Linked DNA regions of Homo sapiens: region 2 is linked to region 1. The links are contacts of gene promoters, found by promoter capture Hi-C in human tissues and cell types (Jung and others, 2019). All regions are on one chromosome and are shown on one strand. Each heading gives the region's core, a stretch centred on a gene start or on the middle of the fragment in contact. The rest is flanking DNA. Distances are from core to core; before and after follow the strand shown.

Region 1 (6,825 bases), core at 3,181-5,680:
GAAGCAACTCGATGGAAAGGACGGTGGGTGTGGAAAGGAAAAGCTCTCGTTTGTAAAAGATCTTTTGCCAGATCTGACTGATGTCATTTACTTTTTGACTCCTGGGCCAGCCCTCTGGAAACAGAGTGCTATTCTGAGCGAGCCAGGGTCTCGGCCCTGTGCGTGGGGGTCCTCTGGGAGAGCTCCTGAAAGGGCTCTGGCAGCCAGCTCCTCTTGGCTGGAAAGCTCCACCATGTAGGGGGGAGCTTGGGGCTGCCGGGAGCAGGTGAGTGGCCCATGGGGGATGGAGAAATATGCAGAGCGGATGAATGAGGACGGGGCACTCTGCCAGCAGATGGACCTGGGGGATCAAATTCAACTCTGCCCTTGCAGCTGGGGGAGCTGGGTCACTTCACTTCTTGCCTCACTCTCCAATTTTCTAACCTGTAAATGGTTAGGATAGCACCTGCCTCACAGAGTTACTATGGAGAGAGGAGATGGCTCTGTATGGGGCACTTGGGCAGTGAATACTTAAAACAATTTTCTTTTTGGATACAGGGTCTTGCTCCATCATCCAGGCTGGAGTGAAGTGGCGCAATCATAGCTCTCTGCATCGTTGACCTCCTGGGCCTAAGTGATCCTACCACCTTGATCTCCTTGCCTTAAGTGATCCTACCACCTTAACCTTCTGAGTAGCTGGGACTACAGGCATGTGCTGCTACACCCAGCTAATTTTTTTTTTAACTTTCCCCTGAGTCACTGGAATTATAGGCGTGCACCACCGTGCCCGGCAGTCAGTGAGTACTTACTGAGTACTGACCACAGGCCTTTCCCTCATGGAACATTCATGACTGAGGACACACACAACCCTTAAATGGACACCTGAAAATGACATAAGGTCCACCAAAAAATGGAAGGGCTGCTCTATTAAACTACTTAAAAAATAACTTGTATGTATTCAACAAAAGCATAGCTATTCATATCCTTAATAGGTGCATATTTCATTCATATCCTTAATAGGTGCATAATTCTTTCTCAAGTCTGGCTAGTCCTCCCCCTTCCAGTGGTGCCCTGGCAGGACCTGGTATGTGCTGGGACGTGGGCCACCTGTGTGTGTGTGTGTGTGTTTCTGTGTGTGTGTATGTGTGTGTGTGTGTAGATGTGGCTTTCCTGGCTTGGCCACAGGTGAGTCATTTGGTCTTCATCAAACTGGTGGGGCTGGAATGGGTGATCCTGGATCCTGGCATGGAAAGCTGCCTCCCAGGGTGGAATCCTAGAGAGCGCTTAGGGAAAGGCTGGGAGGATGGTAGGAAAAAGACAGTGCTAACAACAAGGCGCATATTGCCTGTGGGTTTACATCTACATTTACATTTTGGAGCAGGAGGGTGGGAGGATGGACACGGGGTAGTGGTGGGGCTGGGGGCCAAAGGGCAGGGGGTGGAAGAGGAAAAGCTCTGGAAGAGATTGCCCTAAGACTGTTTCCAAAGGGAGTACTTTGAATTGAGGCTGGAGGTAGGGTGGGGGTAAGGATGAAGGTGAAATGAATAATACATTTGGAAAAACTTACTCATTTGGGTGTGACTCCTATTCAGTCTTGAAAAAAAAGATGGCAAGAATTGTGTATTTCTTTTATAATTAGAAAAAAATGTTAAAAATGAAAAAAAAATCAACTACGCGGAAGACATTTGATGATGGTTGGAGGGACTCTGTATCATTTGTTGACTCAGCGCTGACTTGAGCCATTAATCTAGCACGTCACATCCGCTGCCTCATAGTGACCTCGGTTTGGCTGGCTTTGAGTCAGTGGATTGTGAACTCACTGTGGAAAGACCTTCCCCAATGCGGAAGGACATGGCCCGGAGAAGTTGCTCCCAGAATGTTGCTGTAGATTCCCCTGTTAAGAGCCTTAAACTTCCTTTAATGAAAAATTTTTATTTTTCAAAAACTGGTAGGCAATAGCTAATATTTATATTGTGCTTTGTCATTTACAAAGTATTTTCATCTATATTTTTGAATATGACCCTCACAGTAATAGCATGAGGGTTTTATTGATGTGATGGATGTTAATGTCACCCGTTAGTGAACTAAAGCTCAGAGAGGTTAAGAGACTTGTCTGAGATCACATTGCCAAATAGAGATGGAACTTAAACCAGGACCCTTGCAGAGTAGCTCATGATGTGGCTATCGTGTTTACAAACCATATTGCAAGTCAAATAATCCCTTTTGGCTTTGTAATAGCCTGTGCCTTAGGAAGAGTGGGCACTGTTACCCTGTTTAATAAGCAAATCCCCAGTGTGACAAAGAGGGGAGTGACAGAACCCAACTCCAAGATCTCTTTGCTTTTTACTTCCAAGTGCTACCTCAAAGTTTGTGCACACAATGAAAAGGGAGGTGTGAAAACAGGGTGACTACAGTCAATAACAATTTAATTGTACATTTAAAAAGAACTAAAAGAGGGCCAGGCACTATGGCTCATGCCTATAATCCCAGAACTTTGGGAGGCTGAGGTGGGCAGATCACTTGAGGTCAGGAGTTTGAGAGCAGCCTGGCCAACATGGTGAAACCCCATCTCTACTAAAAATACAAAAATTAGCCAGGCGTGGTGGTGCGCACCTGTAACTCCAGCTACTCAGGAGACTGAGGCACGAGAATCGCTTGAACCTGGGAGGCGGAGGTTGCAGTGAACCAAGATTGCACCCCTGCATTCCAGCCTGGGCAACAGAGTGAGACTCCGTCTCAAAAATAAATAAATAAGTAAATAAATAACAAATAAAAGTAACTAAAAGGGTATCACTGGATTGTTTGTAACACAAAGGCTAAATGCTTGAGGGGATGGATACCCCATCTTCCATGATGTGACGTGCCTGTATCAAAACATCTCATAGGCCCCATAAATATGTATACCTACTATGTGCCCACAGAAATTAAAAATTAAAAATTAAAAAAAGAAAAGGGAGGGGTGTACGTGTGTATGTGCATGTGTATGCAAGGTTGTTATGAGAAAAATGAAGAATGCTGTATTATTTGTTTCTGGGCAACGATCACTTCACAGCTCAGCTCAAAAGACTTATATCCCTGTTAGAGATGTAAGTCCCTAATGTCACGTTTAACCATGAGGAAATAAAACCCAGCATAAGTACAGTAGCTTTTGCCTCCCTCCCATTTCAGATCCTTCTCTCGCGCTGCTCTATCCCCACTCCGGCCACTCCTTCCTTCCCTGACACTGTCCTTGAGAAGCAAGCAGGAGGCGCATCCATGCCACCATGCCAGTTGCCTTCCAATTTTGCATCTCTAGAAACACCTACTGGCCTGACTTGAAGGAGCCTGTTCTTCTTGCGGTTCTTTCTAGGAGAGTGAACTCAGTTGACTTTAGGCAGTGGAAAGATTTCCGTTCATATTGGTGAAGAGTGGGCAGTGCCGTGGGTCCCTCCTTTCCTAACAGTGATAAACTCTGGCTCGAGGTGCTCCCAGTGTCTACCAAGCAGAGCCACTCCCAGGGAAATGGAGAAAAGATGCCATCCAGCTAGGAGGAACTACATCCTGAGGGGGAGGAAGTCAGTGATAAGAGAACAGCCTTTGCTGGGGCCCCTTCCTTTGTGAGGAGGTGGCGGAGCTGGTGGGTGCAGTGGAGGTTGAAGGGTTGCTCTCCTCACCTGCCCACCTCTGGCTGCAGAGATGCATCCCCTCCCGGTGAGGAGGCAACGTTCTGCAGAGCTTCTGCTCTGGTTCCCCCAGGGAGCAGGCCTTTGGCATCCCAGTGCCCATCACTCCATCATTTTAGCAGCAGGTCTCAGCACCTGCTCTCCAGACGGTCTGGCCCAACTGCTGCAGGTGGTGGGGGCAGTCGAAGAAATGAGTTCTACTTTCTATGAAGCAGAAATGAGTTCTCTCTGGGATGCCAGAAAGGGGTACTCTCTGGGTTCTCCACCTCAACCTAATTCCCTCAGGAGCTTTGATTTTTTCCAGTGTCATTTCCCCATCACCCTCTAAGAAGGGGGAACACGTCAAGAAGCATCAAGGAATTGACAGAGATTAGACAAAAGGAGAGTGCGGGGCTTCTAATGTCCTTCCCTCCAAATTTTGAATTGCATTGAAGAAAGTATAATGAGCATCAAACAAACAAATGAATAAAAAGCAACTCACCCCTGCTCCACCTGTGGCACATAGAAGCCTCAGCATTGTAATACAACAGCAGAAGCAGCAACATCTTCCAATGCATCTTGTCCTTCAAAAGGTGAAAAATCGACCCTCAAGCCCAGTGGAACCCCAGTAGCTGCAGGTATGCCCGTGCCGTTCTTCCCAGTGAGATGATGGAGTGCTTCCCTCCCTTCCTTTTGCAGACGTGCAGAAATGCCTACTCTGCCTCAGAAGGCTGGAGGCTGAAGGCTGCGTCCTGGGTGGGACAGGAGTCGGTACCTCTCTTCATTTGACGCTCTCTGGGATTGGGGAACTGGCCTTCCACAGAGAGACTCTGTTTTTGAGCACATCTGGAGTGACTCACGGGGCATGTGATCTCCTTGGCAGTGGGGCGGATAAATATAATTTCTGTACTTGAGTTCCATGTGTTGGATGCACCCACTGGAATTTTTCTTTAACAAACAGACCCGCGGAACTTGTTAGAGAGCCCGGCGAAGAGTTGGCTGCTCTCCCCGTCCACACATACGATACCAGAGCCAGGGGCGAGGGCTGGAGGCAGAGTTGGGAGCCTGCCTGGCAGACACCAGGGCTGGTTGAGCCTAAGTTGCCTTCAGGACAGCAAAATCATTGTGGTGCCTGGGCTGAGTGTCACTGTTGCCTGGCCCTGGAGCTAGACTAGGACATTGGCGCCTAGAGCCTGTGTCTGGTCTGCCCAGGTTCTGGGTGGGTGGGGAGTTGGCAGGTTGTGACCGAGCCGAAGTGGAGAGGTGACATGGTGCATCGGTATTGTCTGTGTGAACGTGCGTAGGTAATGATCCAGGAGCCCACGGGGACCCCCAACTCACATTGGTGATGCTCCCATTTCTGGGCTGTGCCTAGACCTGGGGCCAAGCCCCACAACTCACATTGGTGATGCTCCCATTTCTGGGCTGTGCCTAGACCTGGGGCCAAGCCACTTTGATTTTCCCAAGCAAAATGGGAGTGTTTTTCCATAGTCGTTGTAATATACTGCCATAGACACCTTAATTCTTTCCCAATCACTTCCTCAACTTCTCTGAAATGATAGGGAATGCTAAAGCTTGAAGGACACTTAAAGATTATGTCATCCTGTGGGTTTTCCAGTTTGTGGAGGTGGTGCCCAGGGTGAATGGGCTCCCCAAGAGGGCTCCTCAAAGCTCTACTCTACTGCAAAAGCTCCTCTTTTATCTGCTATAAGAAGTTGTTTGGGAGCCGGGCATGGTGGTTCACGCCTGTAATCCCAACACTTTGGGAGGCCGAAGTGGGGGAATTGCTTGAGGCCAGAAGTTCAAGACCAACCTAGAGAAAATAGACCCTGTCTCTACAAAAAATTAAAAAATTAGCTGGGCGTGGTGGCATGTGCCTGTAGTCCTAGTCACTCAGGTGGCTGAGGCAGAAGGATTGTTTAGGCCCAGGAGTTCAAGGCTGCAGTGAGCTATGATCACAACACTCTACTCCAGCCTGGGTGACAGAGTAAGAACTTTCCTCTTAAAAAAATTAAAAAAAAAACAACCAGTTTTTTTGGGGGAAAAAATACTAGACTACAACATTTGAAAACCAGTACGCTCACTAATATTAATAATAGCTATTAGGTGCTTAATTTGCTTCAGACAGCGTGCTAGGTGCCCTCCTTGCATTAACTGATTTAATGCATCCACCGAACTAGGAGGTTAGGGCACTAGCCAGCAGCACTCTCCAACAGAAATGTAACGTGAATCACAAACGTCACTTAACATTTTCTACAACTCATACTAAAAAAAAGTAAAAAGAGGCTGGGTGCAGTGGCTCACGCCTGTAATCCTAGCACTTTGGGAGGCCGAGGCAGGCGGATCACCTGAGGTCAGGAGTTCGTGACCAGCCTGGCCAACATGGCAAAACCTCGTCTCTCCTAAAAATACAAAAATTAGCCGGGCATGGTGGTGCACACCTGTAATCCCAGCTACTCGAGAGGCTGAGGCAGGAGAGTCTCTTGAGCCTGCGAGGTGAAGGTTGTGGTGAGGCGAGATGGTGCCACTGCACTCTAGCCTGGGCAACACGAGTGAAACTCCATCTCAAAAAAATAAAAAATAGAAAAAGTAAAAAGAAACAAGTGCAATGAATAGTAATAATATCTTTCATTTAATTCAATATATCCAAGATATTATCATTTCTACAAGTAAGTGATATAGTATTAGCAAGATATTTTATATATATATATATAATATTTACATGAGGTCTTTGAAATCTAATGTGTATTTCACACTTATAGCACTTCTCAAGTCACACCAGCCCTGTTTCAAGTACCTGATAGCTCCATGCAGCCAGTGGCTCCTGTATCGGGCAGTGCAGAGCTAGAAGGTGAGAGGGCAGGCTCTGGGGCAAGATGCCTGTCTTTGTATCCCAGCTGTGCCACTGACTAGCTGTGTGATATTGGTGGAGTTCCCTCATCTCTCTTGGGCTTGATTTTCTTCATCTATAGAATGGGGACAATAATAATTTCCTCTCATAGGGTTGTTTCAAGGAATCAATGCATTTTTTTTTAAGATAAAACATTTTGCTTTATTTTTCATTTGCCACATGCATATCTTGACTGTTTACACAGTTATCATTCAATGTAGATACACAATTAATTGCTAAGAGAGAAATTAAATGCATTGCTGATGAATTTATTTTATTTACTTCATTCCAATAAGAAAAGCCACCATTCTTGAG
Region 2 (6,825 bases), core at 2,823-5,322, 37 kb after region 1:
ATCACCCTGATTCCAGGGTTCTTTTTTCTTTTTCTTTCTTTCTTTCTTTCTTTTTTTTTTTTTGAGTCAGTGTCGCTCTGTCACTCAGGCTGGAGGGCAGTGGAGCCATCTCGGCTCACTGCAACCTCTGCCTCTGGGGTTCAAGTGATTCTCCCACCTCAGCCGCCCAAGTTGCTGGGATTACAGGCACCCGCCACCACACCTGGCTAATTTTTTGTATTTTTAGTAGATATGGGGTTTCACCATGTTGGCCAGGCCAGTCTTGAACTCCTGACCTCAGGTGATCCACCCGCCTTGGCCTCCCAAAGTGCTGGGATTACAGGCATGAGCCTCCGCGCCTGGGCCCCAGGGTTCTTTTATCTTGCATCTACATTATACTGACATGATACGATTTTTAAATTTCAAAATCTAGGACGTGATGTGAGAGGTGTACCAGGGAACATTTGGGTACAATCAGAGCGAATGTTAGGAAACCTGGTCCCGTCCGTTCCGTAGCCACGGGAAGATTGGCAGGGATCATGTGTCATGTGGGCTGCAGCTGCTTCTGCTCCCCATTGAGTGGAGTCACATGGAGCTCTGGTGGCTGTCCCCCTTCCTTCCTTGCCAAGGCTGTCTTCCCTGGCAGGTCTGCCTGGTCTCTTCCGCCTCACCATCCCCCACTTCCCTCCTTTCCCATCCCCTGTTCTGGTGGAATATTGAAGGGTAGGAGCGAGGATGACTTCTCCATGTTGACTTGGTTTGGGACAGGGAGTGTATTTCTGGAAGAATATTTCTAGCCTGAGCTGCTTTTTCCTTCCGAGTAAGGCAATTTGAAAGCACTGGTCTTCCATGAAAAGTTGACTAAGAAAAGATGTAATTTCTATGAAGTTTGGGCACCTGATTGAAACCGTATTCAATCAAAGGTCAAGGTCCTAACAGTGGTATGATGTGAGATGTACAAACAAATACACACATAATTATGGGAGGGCCAAAATGCAAACACGGACCTGCTTGCAAATTGGTGAGTAGGGAACTGCCTGAGAGAGGCTCATTCGGAGCTTGTGAGTCAGGGATGTTAATAACGCCCGGTGATGCTGTGAGTCCAAAAATAGTGAGCACTAAAGTAGCAGTGAACTTTCAAACTTTTTCTGAGTTTATATGCAATGGTCTTAAAAATCACATAATATAGGCTGGGCACAGTGGCTCACGCCTGTAATCCTAGCACTTTGGGTGGCTGAGGTGGGCGGATCACCTGAGGTCAGGAGATCGAGACCAGCCTGGCCAACATGGTGAAACCCTGTCTCTACTAAAAATATAAAAATTAGCCGAGCATGGTGACACGTGCCTATAATCCCAGCTACTTGGGAGGCTGAGGCAGGAGAATTGCTTGAACCTGGGAGGTAGAGGTTGCAGTGAGCCAAGATCGCGGCACTGCCCTCCAGCCTGGGCGACAGAGCGAGACTCCATCTCAAAAAAAAAAAAATCACATAATATAAAAGTCATCATTGAGTTAAAATATGACAGCATGCTGTACTCATGTTGTCAGGGAGTCCGGTATGGTTGATGTTAAAGACAGTCATGTGAGGTTCCTTCCTCCAAGTAAAGAACCACATGAGGGTGTTTCCTGTAGATGATTCTGCCTTCGCCTTAATGTGCTTCTCCCTACAGTCTCACTAATCTCATTAATTAAGCTCCTTAATTATCTTCCCATCCCAAATCCCAGCTTTCTTCCTCTATTACCCAGTTCCCACCAAGGGAACTTCTGGTTTTTCAGTCAAGTCACAGAAACTTTGGAATCCTCTATGATAACTCTTCCTTACACGTCACACCTTATATCTAATCTGTCCTCCAGGCAGTAATGATTTCTTCCTTAAAAATGAAACACTTGCTTTAACTCTTATTCTAACCCCCACCACTGTAACAGCTTTCGTGGAGAATCCTTGATCAGTCTATCAGCCTCCTAAGAGGCTTTGCTCTAACCACCCTGCATCTCTCTGTCAAGTTGTTCTTATCAAAACACTGCTTTTGTTATGTCCTTACTTAAGAACACAAAATACCTCCCCATTGCCACCTCTGTTCTCCCCTCGATGGCTCTCTACCCATTCAACCCTATTGTTTTGCGGTTACTCATGGTCTGTACTTTCTGTTCTAGTCCGGAGAGGATCTGAATTCTCCACCTCTGCTCACGCAATTCCTCCCTCCCTGACTCAGGTCTGCTTGGTCTTCCTCCTTCTCCTGCTGTATTCTCACTACCATTATCATAATTTGGGCTTTATTGCACAATCTTTCGCCTCTAGCTTACAGCCTCGTAGTCTCAGGATAGTGGTAGCGGGGAAGGAGAAGAAAGGTGGTAGGGGAAGAGAGAGGCTCATTTCTACCCCTGTAATGGGCTGGTCCTAGCCACCTTGCCGTTAGTCCTGTCCCCTCTTCCCACTACTTCTGTAACAAACCAGCTCTTGAACTTCCTTTCTTTGAGACTCAGCTTTCCAGAGAGGCCCCCCAAGAGTCACATTGCACTCGCTTGCCTCCGAGCTCCTTCAGCCCCTGTGGGCACAGGTTCTATGTCTCAGGTGCTTTATGGGAAAACAGGGCGTGCGATTGTTCTCCTCCTGGTCATGCCTAACTGTCCGTGGACCGGATGGTTAAGATGATCCACTTAAAGATTTGCTAGCAGAACTCACATCTCATGGACAGTCCAAGCACTTCCTAGGCTTCCCTAATTAGCCTCCTGCGTTGGCTGATGGCAGAAGGAAACATTTGCACCCTGTTGCCTCCTAAGCATTGGTTGGTCAGATTTCCTCTCTCCCACCTCATCCTTTATGTGTTGAATGTTTGCTGAGCACCTACTTTGTGCCAGGTGATACATTCTAGTCTTTAAGGATTCACATGAATGAAGTGCACCCCTAGCCTTCAAGAGCTTACAGTTTAGGAGAAAGTGGACACGCAGAAGACAATGATAGTACAGGGTGATTAATGCTTTGATAACAGGCACAGGAAATTATGAAGGAACATAATGACAGGCACTCAATGCTGTAGAGAGGAGTCAGAGAAGGCTTCTTGAAAGAGGTGACAACTTTCTTGAATCTTAAGAATGAATAGGGCTTAGGCAGGTGAGGAAGGCAAAATAGTGCTATGGAGTGGGGAGGAAGGTGGAAGAAGACTCCAGCCTTCCCAGCCCCTCCTTTGCTCTCTCCTTTGTCTCTGGTACCTTAGGAAACCTGGCTGGGAATATAGAAAAAACCACAGCAGTAGCTTAGCTAGAAGGAAGGAGGAGGAGGAGAAAAAGAAGAGGAGGAGGAAGAAGAAGAGAGGATGGAGGAAGAGGAGGAAGAGAAAGAAAAGAAGAAGAAAGAAGGAGTAGGAGTAGGAGAAGGAAGAAGTGGCACACAAGTCTATAGAGTAGGGTAGATCAACAGTAGGCATCCGTGAAGGACTAGACAGATGCCTCAACTTCTTCATTTTAACCCAGAGAGTGACAGCCCAGGTCAAGATGTTTTGTTGCTTCAATGGCTTAAATAGCCACGGTTGTCATAGATATTCATTCCTACATTTGCCTATGTTTGCGGTATCTCAGACATAAGAACTAACCATACCATGTCCAATAGTAAGCTCACAAGTAGTGGAGCACCCACGAAGTTAAAATGTTGCTTCTAAGAGACTGTAGTACACCAGCATCACATTTAAAAGTACAAATTATGGAGAACCCAGTGAGAGATGTCAGGTGCATTTGTCATTTGTGTTCTTTTTCCAAAAGGACTTTTTTAAAATCTTAAAATATAGTTGCAAATTATATAGTTGTATCTTCATAATATTGAGTTTGCACAAACTTATTCAAAGTTTACTATGCAGTTTGGGAAACTAGCTTTAGTTTCCCAAAGAAAGACTTTCTTGGGCCTGGCTAATTTTGCTTTTTTTTTTTTTTTTTTCCCAGTTCATGGCTGGTTGGTGTGGGGCTGCAAAGCAGGGACTGTGAGCTGACAGTTCCTTGTTTCTCTCCTAGGAGTAGGGGCCTCATGGGTTGAGAGGGTAGAATGCCAGACAGTGGCCCCTACATGACGTGCTTAGAGCAGCCTAGTTCATGTTATGATGTTTTCTACGAGTGGCTTTAACAGCTTGTGTTAAGCAAGGGAAACATCATTTAATCTCTCTCTCTCTCTTTTTTTTTTTTTTTTTTTTTTACCATATTCTTTTAAAAAATTACCATTTGCTTTTAAAAATAGGTAATACTTGCACAATTCAAAAGTGAAAACTATACATGGATATAGTAAAATGGCTGCTTCATAAACCTGTTTCCAGTTTTTCCAGTTTCTATTCGTATAGCAGAAACACAGTATTATGTAGTGTTTTGGGGGTATACTTCAAGAGGTATTTATTTTATTTATTTATTTTTTTGAGACAGAGTCTCACCCTGTCACCCAGGTTGGAGTGCAGTGGCGCGATCTCGGCTCACTGCACCCTCCGCCTCCCAGGTCCAAGTGATTCTCCTGCCCCAGCCTCCTGAGTAGCTGGGATTATAGGCAGGTGCCACCACGCCCAGCTAATTCTTTGTATCTTTTGTAGAGATGGCATTTCACCATGTTGGCCAGGCTGGTCTTGAACTCCTGGCCTCATGATCCACCCACCTCGGCCTCCCAATCAAGAGGTATTTTTAAAGTGGGTACAAACAAATATGAATCTATATTCTTTCCTCTTCCAACTTTTAAAAAACAACTAGCAGTGTTCTCTACACACTCTCTTGTACCTTACTTTTTTCTCTTGACATCGTATCTTGAAGACATTTCTACATTAGTTCTTGATAAGTTTGTTCATTCCTTTTTAGAGCTGCATAGCATTCTATTTTGTGGCTGTGCCACAGTTTTTAAAATCGGTGTCTTCTTGATGTACACCTAAGCTGATTACAGTCTTTCGCTCTTGTGTACAATACTTCTGGATAACATTGTAGGTAGGTCACTTTGCACATGTTAAAAAAATAACGGTAGGATAAATTCCTGGAAGTGGAATTCTTGGGCCAAAAGGAACATGCCTTTCTGATTTAATAAATTTTGCCAAATTGCTTCCAAACAGTTTGTATCAGTTTACACTCCCACTAGCCATAAGTTACAGGCTTCTGCCTTACTAAACTTTTGTATTCTTGCCAACTTGTTAAGTGGGAAATTGGCATCTCATTGGCTTTAATTTGCATCTTTTATTATGACAGAGGTAGAACATTTGTATTTCCTTTTGGTGGGCTCTCCTTTGTCCAGTTTTATTTGCGTCTTTGGCCTTTTTCTTGTCAATTTGTAAGAATTTTTCGTATAATGGGATGTGAGTTGCAAATATTTTTCAATTTGTCATTTCTCTTTGTCTGTAATATGTCATTTGACTGTTTTATTTTTATCCATGCAGATGTTTTAATTTTTATGGTGTACAATTTTTATATCTTTTATTTCACGACATCTGGATTTTGAATCATTCAGGGAGGGTCTTACCCATTCTGAGCTTATAAAAGAATTCTCCATGTTTTCTGGTAGGTTGCTTTCTTGGTCATTACATTTAAATTCTCGTTCCGTTTGAAAATTATCCTGGTGTATGGCATAAGGTATGGTTTAAAAACATTTTCCAGAAAGTGTATCCAGTTGTAATAGCACCATTCATTGAAAAGTTCATGTTTCTCCCACCGAGTTCCCAAACTTATCATATATCAAATCTTTATGTAATTGAGAATATTTCTGTGTTTTCTATGTTGTTACATTAGTCTGTCTGATGATTTATAGTCTAGTGCCACATAATTTAACAATTTGAGGCTTAACAGCATTTTTTTTTTTTAAAGAGACAAGATCTTACTCTGTTGCCTCGGCTGGAGGGCAGTGGCATAATCATAGCTTACTGCAGCCTTGAACTTCTGGGCTCAAGTGATCCTCCCACATCAGTCTCCCAAGTAGCTGGGAGTGTAGGCACACACCACCATGTCCAGCTAGTTTTATTTAATTTTTGATAGAGCTTAAGTCTTGCTATGTTGCCCAGGCTTGTCTTGAACCCCTGGCTTCAAGCGATCCTCCCACTTTGGTCTCCCAAAGTTTTGGGACTACAGGCATGAGCCACTGCACCCAGCCAACAGTGTACATTAATATCACTCTTTGCTCTTGCTTTTCAGAATTTTCCTACTTGATTCCTCTTGGAGGACTTTAGAATTATCTTGTCTAGCTCCAGAAAATGAGAAGTCTATTGGTAGTTATATTGGTATAATGTTTAATTTGTGAATTTCTTTAGAGAGTATTGATATATCACAACACAGTTCATCTATTTGTTCAAATCTTATTTCTTTTTTCCTTCAGAACTGTTTTCAAGTTTGTTTCCTATAGCTGTGGAATTTTTGGGTTAAGTTTATTTTATCTTCTTTCTCTCTGGTTCCTATTATAAATGGAGGCTTTCTCCCTTATTATATCTTCTGACTGGTAATTACTTTGTTTATTAATTCTGTAGCCTGCTATGTTATTAAATATTCTTATTGTTTACTATAGGTTTCCTGTCAGTTTTCTTGAGTTTTCTGGTGTATCATCATAGAATTTTTAAATAGTGATGACTTCTTCCTTTCCAATTTTTATGTCCCTAACTACTTTCTCTTGTCTTGTTCTGGGCAAGTTCATAGAATGGCTCATTGGTAATACACATGTCAAGCAAGTTGGCTGTGATGGAGAGAGTTGGGGCGCATTTGCATAAGGAACACAGGTGTCTCTAGGGAGGGACTGCATTGAGACCTTAAAACTTTCTGGATAAAGTGGAATGTTGTTACAACATATGTTATAAATGGAATTGGCCCAGCAGATGCCAGAGGGCAGGAGAGGAGCACAGGAGGCTCTGAGGGAG

The links. Contacts are between HindIII fragments. The study calls those that stand out against the background at their distance.
Region 2: a fragment that was not itself captured here is called in contact with the fragment with the promoter of FAM180A in region 1 in 1 of the 25 tissues and cell types used here (small bowel).

The regions. Positions count from the first base shown.
Region 1 is chr7:135,744,383-135,751,207 of GRCh38, forward strand. FAM180A (family with sequence similarity 180 member A) reads right to left here and starts at 4,431. Exons shown (of 4, transcript NM_205855.4): 1 at 4,123-4,431. The coding sequence starts at 4,198. RefSeq lists an enhancer at 869-2,068. The HindIII fragment of the contact is 9,123 bases long and covers 1-6,825 here.
Region 2 is chr7:135,782,003-135,788,827 of GRCh38, forward strand. No RefSeq gene overlaps it. Among named protein-coding and RNA genes, the nearest start is that of FAM180A, 37 kb to the left of the region's middle. RefSeq lists a silencer at 2,566-2,748. The HindIII fragment of the contact is 7,973 bases long and covers 87-6,825 here.